Regions from separate parts of the Homo sapiens genome. Here region 2 is linked to region 1. The links are contacts of gene promoters, found by promoter capture Hi-C in human tissues and cell types (Jung and others, 2019). All regions are on one chromosome and are shown on one strand. The core of a region is centred on a gene start or on the middle of the fragment in contact, and the rest is flanking DNA. Distances in the headings are between cores, read along the strand shown. Region 1 holds the start of DNAH3 (dynein axonemal heavy chain 3). Region 2 has its middle 24 kb from the start of MIR3680-1.

The links. The method cuts DNA at HindIII sites, captures the fragments that hold promoters and counts their contacts. A contact is called where the count stands out against the background at its distance.
Region 2: a fragment that was not itself captured here is called in contact with the fragment with the promoter of DNAH3 in region 1 in 1 of the 25 tissues and cell types used here (stomach).

The regions. Positions count from the first base shown.
Region 1 is chr16:21,148,783-21,152,990 of GRCh38, forward strand. It overlaps DNAH3 (dynein axonemal heavy chain 3), which reads right to left and starts at 2,064. Exons shown (of 62, transcript NM_001347886.2): 1 at 1,969-2,064; 2 at 1,508-1,752. The coding sequence starts at 1,537. The HindIII fragment of the contact is 16,051 bases long and covers 1-4,208 here.
Region 2 is chr16:21,528,259-21,532,466 of GRCh38, forward strand. No RefSeq gene overlaps it. Among named protein-coding and RNA genes, the nearest start is that of MIR3680-1, 24 kb to the left of the region's middle. The HindIII fragment of the contact is 9,736 bases long and covers 1-4,208 here.

The DNA.
Region 1 (4,208 bases), core at 814-3,313:
GGGCACACACAACATGAGCAGATCTAGGCATCAATTGCAGAATGGGGCTAAAAGAGTTTTCCTGGCAATAAATGGCTAAGAATCCTCTGTGGCACCTTCAAGAGATCGAGATTCTCATAAGAACTAGCTGGTTGTGCAAAATTGTTTGTTAAAAATATGAATGCTTGGCCAGCCGTGGTAGCTAATGTCTATAATCCCAGCACTTTGGGAGGCCGAGGCGGGTGGATCACTTGAGGCCAGGAGTTCGAGACCAGCCTGGCCAACATGGAGAAATCCCGTCTCTACTAAAAATACAAAAATTAGCCAGGCGGTGGCGCACACCTGTAGTTCCAGCTACTCAGGAGACTGAGGCAGGAGAATCGCTTGAACCCAGAAAGCAGACGCTTCAGTGAGTGAAGATCACGCCACTGCACTCCAGCCTGGATAACAGAGACAAACTGTCTCAAAAAAAAAAAAAGAAAGAAAGAAAAAGAAAGAAAGAAATTAATGCTTAAATCTTCTCTTTGGTAAATTTCAAGGAGCTTTCACTTCAGAGCATATTGGCTTAGTTATTATCTACAAATCCACTTTAGTTTTACAAAGTTTCTATTTAAAATGCTCCTCTGGGCACTTCGCTGTATGGCAACCTGGTGATTCAACACAGATACAACAGAAATTCTGGAACTTAGATTGGGTAGAACTGTCACTTTGGGCAGCTTATTGCTGATTACACATGTTGTATGTATGTTCTTCATGGAGGCCATTCCCAAATGCTCGTCTGAGGACGTGCTACACCAGAATCACTCTGGTCTTAGATAAAAATATAGATTCCAGGGCCCCACTCCAAATCTTCTGGATCGGAATCTAGGAGTGGGGGACCAAGACTCTATGTTTTTAAGATGCTCCCCAGAATATTCTAATGTTCAGCCACAGTCAAAAACTGATGGTTGGAATATATGGTCTAATGGGCTTGGAAGGGAAGGAAAGGGAAGAACGGGTGTCTATTCCCGGATTTTTCACAGCAAAACTTGAAGATTTCCAAAAGTCTAATTCAGCAAAAATGATATTTCAAAGCAGACAACAAAAAAATGTGATGAATACACTTGTTCAGTCAAGGGCATCTAACATGCCAATTGGCCCTCTTCCCACATATTCCCAACACATTAAAAATACAGGTAAATCGGCCAGACACGGTGGCTCACACCTGTAATCCCAGCACTTTGGGAGGCTGAGGCAGGCGGATCTCCTGAGATCGGGAGTTCAAGACCAGCCTGACCAACATGGATAAACCCTGTCTCCACTAAAAATACAAAATTAGCCAGGTGTGGTGGCACATGCCTGTAATCCCAGCTACTCAGGAGGCTGAGGCAGGAGAATCACTTGAACCCAGGAGGCGGAGGTTGCAGTGAGCCGAGATCACACCATTGCACTCCAGCCTGGGCAACAAAGAGCAAAACTCTGTCTCAAAATAAAAAATAAAAAAAAAAAATACAGGTAAAACAAGAAACGTCTTAAAATTCACACCTACCTTCTGAGATGAGCAATCCATGTCACCCATGGTGTCCACTCTAATTGTAGCTATTTTTTTAAAATGAATAAAGAGCTTTCAGCTTCTCCAGGGATGTGCCTCTCCTATCCAGTTGGTCTGAAATTCACACTTCCTTATAGCATAATGGGGATGACACCAACAATGGAACTTTCCAGATGTTCTGAAAGCTCTGTTCATGAGGTTGCCTCTCTGAGGTCATAGACTTTGGCCCGCTGAGGAGTTCCCTGGTAAAAAAGGAGAGAAAGGGAAGCTAGAGATAAGGGGACAGCACTGGGTTTCTGCTGCGCTTTTGGCTCTGGTTCCTAGTCCCCCAGCGGTGGCCACGCTTCCTTTCCCTTGAGTGCTTCTCTCTTGGAAATTTTCCAGAAACACACTGAGTTCACTGCAGAGGAAAGACTGAAGCAGAGTTACACATTAATACAGAGAAGAGGGAGACTCACCCCTCCAAACAACATCCTGGCAGCCCGAACTGTTCTCCCTCCTCCTCCCTGGACTCTTAACACTGGCAGTGCTTGTATGCAGGCGCTGGGCACAGTAACCATGTCTCAGCGTCTGTTGCTAAGGGAAGGAGGGGCCTCTGCGGTGCCTACATACAAGACTGGGCATGACCTAGCTCTGTGAGCTGGTGTCTCCCTTTGCTGGAGGCCCAGGTGGGCAGCAGGAAGTGTTGGTGACAGAAGGGAACATGGGAAGGTGTTTAGCAATGTTCCAGGAATAACAGAGGCAACAGCAATAAAAGACCTTTGGAGACGTCGAAAAGCACAGAGTATGGTGGTTAAGTTCTTGGGATCTACAATTGGACAGGTCATACTTCAGATCCTACTCTTCTCATTAATTAGCTGTGTGGCTTGGCAAGTTGTTTAATCTCTCCAAGTGTCCTTTCCGTCTGTAAAATGGCAATAATGTGAGTCCCTACTTCATAGGGTTGCTTTGAAGGGTTAACGGGATAACGTGTACAGAGCGATTTGCATATAGTAGAAGGATAACTGATATTTTCCCAGTTTTTCCCCGTTTTTTTTTTTTTTTTTGAGACAGAGTCTTGCTCTGTTGCCCAGGCTGCAGTGCAGTGGCGTGATCTCAGCTCACTGCAAGCTCTGCCTCCCGGGTTCACACCATTCTCCTGCCTCAGCCTCCCACCAGTGCGCCCAGCTAATTTTTTGTATTTTTAGTAGAGACGGGGTTTCACCGTGTTAGCCAGGATGGTCTCAATCTCCTGACCTCGTGATCCGCCCACCTCGGCCTCCCAAAGTGTGGGATTACAGGTGTGAGCCACTGCGCCCAGCCCAGTTTTTCCCCATTTTAACACTAAGTCCTGCATCCTGGGAGCAATCTCAGTCCTGGGCAAACTGGGATAGTTTGATCACCCAACACAGTCAATGCTCTATAAATGTTGTGGCTAACATCAATATTACGATAAACACAGAAATACATGTGCACATACTCAAAAGTAACAATATTAGCTGCCGCCCGAATATTAAAAGCACATGTTCCATGGTCACTGTGAAGTTCTCTCAAAACCAAGTTAGACTTAATGAGTTTTTTGGGGGTGCCATGCTTGCATATCTTTTTTTTTCATTCAATTTCCCCCCAAACACCACGATATTCCCATTTTAAGGATAAGGAATCAAAACTGAGAGATATGGGCCAGGTATGGTGGTTCATGCCTGTAATCCCAGCACTCTGAAAGGCTGAGGTGGATGGATCACTTGAGGTCAGGAGTTTGAGACCAGCTTGGCCAACATAGTGAAACCCCATCTCTACTAAAAATACAAAATTAGCCGGGCATGGTGGTAGTCGCCTGTAATCCCAGCTACTTGGGGGGCTGAGGCAGGAGAATCGCTTGAACCTGGGAGGGAGGTTGCAGTGAGCACAGATCATGCCACTGCACCCCAGCCTGGGCAACAAGAGCGAAACTCCATCTCAAAAAAAAAGAAAAACAAACAAAAAAACTGAGAGATACATAACTTTCCTAAGTCGACTTGACTCATAAGTAGCACTGATACAATTGGAACCTGTCCTGATGACCCCGAGTCCACTGCTCTTTCCATAACCTACCTGTCCAGAACACAAACATTCCCGAGTTCCTATGAAAAGCATTGCATAGTGAGAGGTGACAGCGTGCTGGCAGTCCTCACAGCCCTCGCTCGCTCTCGGCGCCTCCTCTGCCTGGGCTCCCACTTTGGCGGCACTTGAGGAGCCCTTCAGCCCACCGCTGCACTGTGAGAGCTCCTTTCTGGGCTGGGCAAGGCCGAAGCCGGCTCCCTCAGCTTGCAGGCAGGTGTGGAGGGAGAGGCGCGAGCGGGAACCCGGGCTGCGCACGGCGCTTGCGGGCCAGCTGGAGTTCCGGGTGGGCGTGGGCTTGGCGGGCCCCGCACTGGGAGCAGCCAGCTGGCCCTGCCGGCCCCGGGCAATGAGGGGCTTAGCACCCCGGCCAGCGGCTGCGGAGGGTGTACTGGGTCCCCCAGCAGTGCTAGCCCACCGGCGCTGCGCTCCATTTCTCACCGGGCCTTAGCTGCCTTCCCGCGGGGCAGGGCTCGGGACTTGCAGCCCGCCATGCCTGAGCCTCCCACCCCCTCCGTGGGCTCCTGTGCTGCCCGAGCCTCCCCGACGAGCGCCACCCCCTGCTCCACGGCGCCCAGTCCCACCGACCACCCAAGGGCTGAGGAGTGCGGGCCCACGG
Region 2 (4,208 bases), core at 1,065-3,564, 380 kb after region 1:
CCACCTCCTGGGTTCAAGCGATTTCTGGCTAGATTTTGTTTTGTTTTGTTTTGAGACGGAGTCTCGCTCTGTCACCCAGGCTAGAGTGCGGTGGCCGCCATCTCGGCTCACTGCAAGCTCCGTCTCCCAGGTTCAAGCGATTCTCCTGCCTCAGCCTCCACAGTAGCTGGGATTATAGGTGCATGCCAACACGCCCGGCTAATTTTTCTTTGTATTTTTAGAAAAGACAGGGTTTCACAATATTGCCCAGGCTCGTCTCAAACTCCTGACCTCATGATCTGCCCACCTCAGCCTTCCAAAGTGCTGGGATTACAGGCGTGAGCCACCGTGCCTAGCCTTAGTTTTTTTTTTTTTTTCTTTTTGAGATGGAGTCTCACTCTGTTGCCCAGGCTGGAGTACAGTGGCACGATCTCGGCTCACTGCAACCTCCACCTCCTGGGTTCAAGCAATTCTCCCTGCCTCAGTCTCCCGAGTAGCTGGGACTACAGGTACATGCCAGCACACCCGGCTAGTTTTTTGTACTTTTAGTAGAGACGGGGTTTCACCGTGTTAGCCAGGATGGTCTTGATCTCCTGACCTCATGATCTACCTGCCTCAGCCTTCCAAAGTGCTGGGATTACAGGCGTGAGCCTAGTTTTTGTATTTTTTTTTTTTTGGAGGCGGAGTCTCACTCTGTCGCCCAGACTGGAGTGCAGTGGCACAATCTTGGCTCATTGCAACCTCTGCATCCCGGGTTCAAGCAATTCTCCTGCCTCAGCCTCCCAAGTAGCTGGGATTACAGGTGCCTGCCACCATGCCCGACTAATTTTTTGCGTTTTTTTTTTTTTTTTAGTAGAGACGGGGCTTCACCATGTTGCCCAGGCTGGTCTTGAACTCCTGACCTCAGGTGATCTGCCCACCTCAGCCTCCCAAAGTGCGGGGATTACAGGCGTGAGCCACCGCGCCTGACCTAACCTACTTATTCTTTATCTCCCCGGAATGAAACGGCTTTTATCACCTTGGGAAACAGATTAGCATCTGCTTATTTTTCTGTGCTTATCTGACTGTAAGGTGACATTGGAAGATAATTTAATTAGGTTGATTGTAAAACTTTCTCTCTTCTGGGAGGAATATTTTTTAATGCTATGAAAATAAAAATACTGGGCCAGGCACGGTGGCTCATGCCTGTAATCCCAGAACTTTGGGAGGCCAAGGTAGGCAGATCACCTGAGGTCAGGAGTTCGAGACCAGCCTGACCAACATGGTGAAACCAAATCTCTACTAAAAATGCAAAAAAAAAAAAAAAAAAAAAATAGGCTGGGCGCAGTGGCTTGCGTCTGTAATCCCAGTACTTTGGGAGGCTGAGGCGGGCGGATCACCTGAGGTTGAGAGTTCAAGACCAGCCTGACCAACATGGAGAAACCCCATCTCTAGTAAAAATACAAAATTAGCCAGGCGTGGTGGCCCATGCCTGTAATCTCAGCTAATTGGGAGGCTGAGGCAGGAGAATTGCTTGAACCTGGGAGGCAGAGGTTGTGGTGAACCAAGATGGCATCAATGCACTCCAGCCTAGGCGACAAGAGCAAAACTCTGTCTCAAAGAAAAAAAAAAAATTTGCTGGGCATGGTGGCGGGTGCCTGTAATCCCCGCTACTCGGGAGGCTGAGGCAGGAGAATTGCTTGAACCCGGGAGGCAGAGGTTGCAGTGAGCTGAGATCATGACATTGCACTCCAGCCTGGGTGACAGAGCGACACTCCATCTAAAAAAAAGGAAAAGAAAAACACTGTACTGATTTTGGATTTTTTCCAAGCAAGTAATAGGTAAAAAGAAACCCAAACTGGCTTACATGAAAGGGCACCTATTGGCTTGTGTAACTGATCAGGTGCAACCATTGCTATAAGCTTGATCCAGACCCGACGCGGTGACTCATGCCAGTAATCTCAGCACTTTGGGAGGACGAGGCAGGCGGATCGCCTGAGGTCGGGAGATCGAGACCAGCCTGACCAACATGGAGAAACCCCGTCTCTGCTAAAAATACAAAATTAGCCAGGCACAGTGGTGTACGCCTGTAATCCCAGCTACTTGTGAGGCTGAGGCAGGAGAATCACCTGAACCCGGGAGGTGGAGGTTGCAGTGAGCCAAGATTGCGCCACTGCACTCCAGCCTGGGTGACAAAGCAAGACTCCATCTCAAAAACAAAACAAAACAAAAAACAACAAAAAAAAAGAGGGTGAAAGGCAGCCCCAGAGTGGGAGAAGAGATTTGTAAAATGGACAAAGGCCTTATAATTGGAATATATAAAGAACTCCTAAAAATCACTAAGAAAACCACAGACAGCCCAAGAGAAAAATGGGCAAATGGCTCAAGTAGGTATCTGGTGAAAGAGGATATGCAGATGGCCAATGAATCTGCACAAAGTGCTCCACATCATTAATCATTAGGGAAGTGCAAATTAAATCCACAGGAGACACCTGGGCACACCCTCCAGAAAGCACACAATGACCTGCTGGCAAGGACAGGAACGACCACTTTGGAAAACTCTTTGGCAGCACAGCCAAACTGAGCCTTTCCACTCGAAAATGCCCTTTGCTCAGAACCCAGCAGCAGCTCCAAAGTCTCCACCCAGCCTATGGGGCCCCAGTACCCACCCTTGCCTCCCATGCCTCTCTCCTCACCCCTGCACTTGGCTGCCCTCACCCTCGGGCTGCACCTTGAACACCAGAAGGGTGCTCCTGCCTCCAGCCTCTGCCTGGAATTCTCTGCCCTCGGGTAGCCATGTGGTTCACTCCTCCTTTGGTCTCTGCCCAAATGGCCCCTGTAGAAGAGACCTCCCCACCCAGCCATGTCCTCTCCCTGTGACTTACCACCCCAGACTTTCTGTGTTGATGCATCATGGTCTACCTCCTTCCATCAGAACGTGAGCTCCGAGGCAAAGGCTCTTCAGACCTGAAACAGTCTAGGCTCTGTCCCCAGAGTCTAGAATAGAGCCTGCCACGTAATTGGCACTCAATAAATGTTACATGAATTAATGGAAACCATCCTGGCACAAGTGGTAGCTCTCTTTCCACAAAAAGAATGAGCTTGCCAAGAGAGAGACAACATCACGAAAGAGAGACAGAAAAGCCACACTCAGACCCAACATTGAGTTCTGGATCAAGTCTTTTTTTTTTTTTTTTTTTTTTTGAGACAAAGTTTTGCTCTTGTTTCCCAGGCTGGAATGCAATGGCGCGATCTCGGCTCACTACAACCTCTGCCTCGCGGGTTCAAGCAATTCTCCTGCCTCAGCCTCCCGAGTAGCTGGGATTACAGGCATGCACCACCAAGCTCGGCTAATTTTGTATTTTTAGTAGAGATGGGGTTTCTCCATGTTGGTCAGGCTAGTCTGGAACTTGGCCTCCCAAAGTGCTGGGTTTACAGGCGTGAGCCACAGCGCCTGGCTCCTATGTTATTTTTTAGGAGCTTTATTGTTTTACCTTTCCTATTTAGATCTATAGTCTGTCAGGAATTAATTTTTGTGTGTGCTGTGAGGTAGGGGTGTGAGGTATGGTGAGAAAAAAGATTCATGGTTCCCCATTTGGATATCCCGTTGGCTCGGTGGGGTGGCTCATGCCTGTAATCCCAGCACTTTGGGAGGTCAAAGCAGGAGAACTATTGGAGCTCAGGGGTTCAGGACCAACCTGGGCAACATAGTGAGACCCTGTGGATCGACAGATGAATTGATCGATCAATCAATACATAGATAGATAAGTATCCAAATGATCCAAAACTATTCACAGAAAAGCCCATCCATTCCCTACAGCATGACTCAGGGATCACAAATGTGTGGAACCTTCTAGACATGCTATTCTTTTTCATTGGTTGATTTGTCCTTCTCTGACAGGTACCACATTATCTTAATTAATATAGCTTTTTATTTTTATTTATTTATTTATTTTATATGGAGTCTCGCTCTGTCGCCCAGGCTGGAGTGCAGTGGCATGATCTCAGCTCACTGCAAGTTCTGCCTCCCAGATTCAAGCGATTCTCCTGCCTCAGTCTCCTGAGTAGCTGGGATTACAGGCATGAGCCACCGCACCTAGCTAATTTTTGTATTTTTAGCAGAGACAGGGTTTCGCCATGTTGGCCAGGCTGGTGTCGAACTTCTGACCTCAGGTGATCTTCCCACCTCGGCCTCCCAAAGTGCTGGGATTACAGGCATGAGCCACTGCGCCTGGCCTACTATAGCTTTT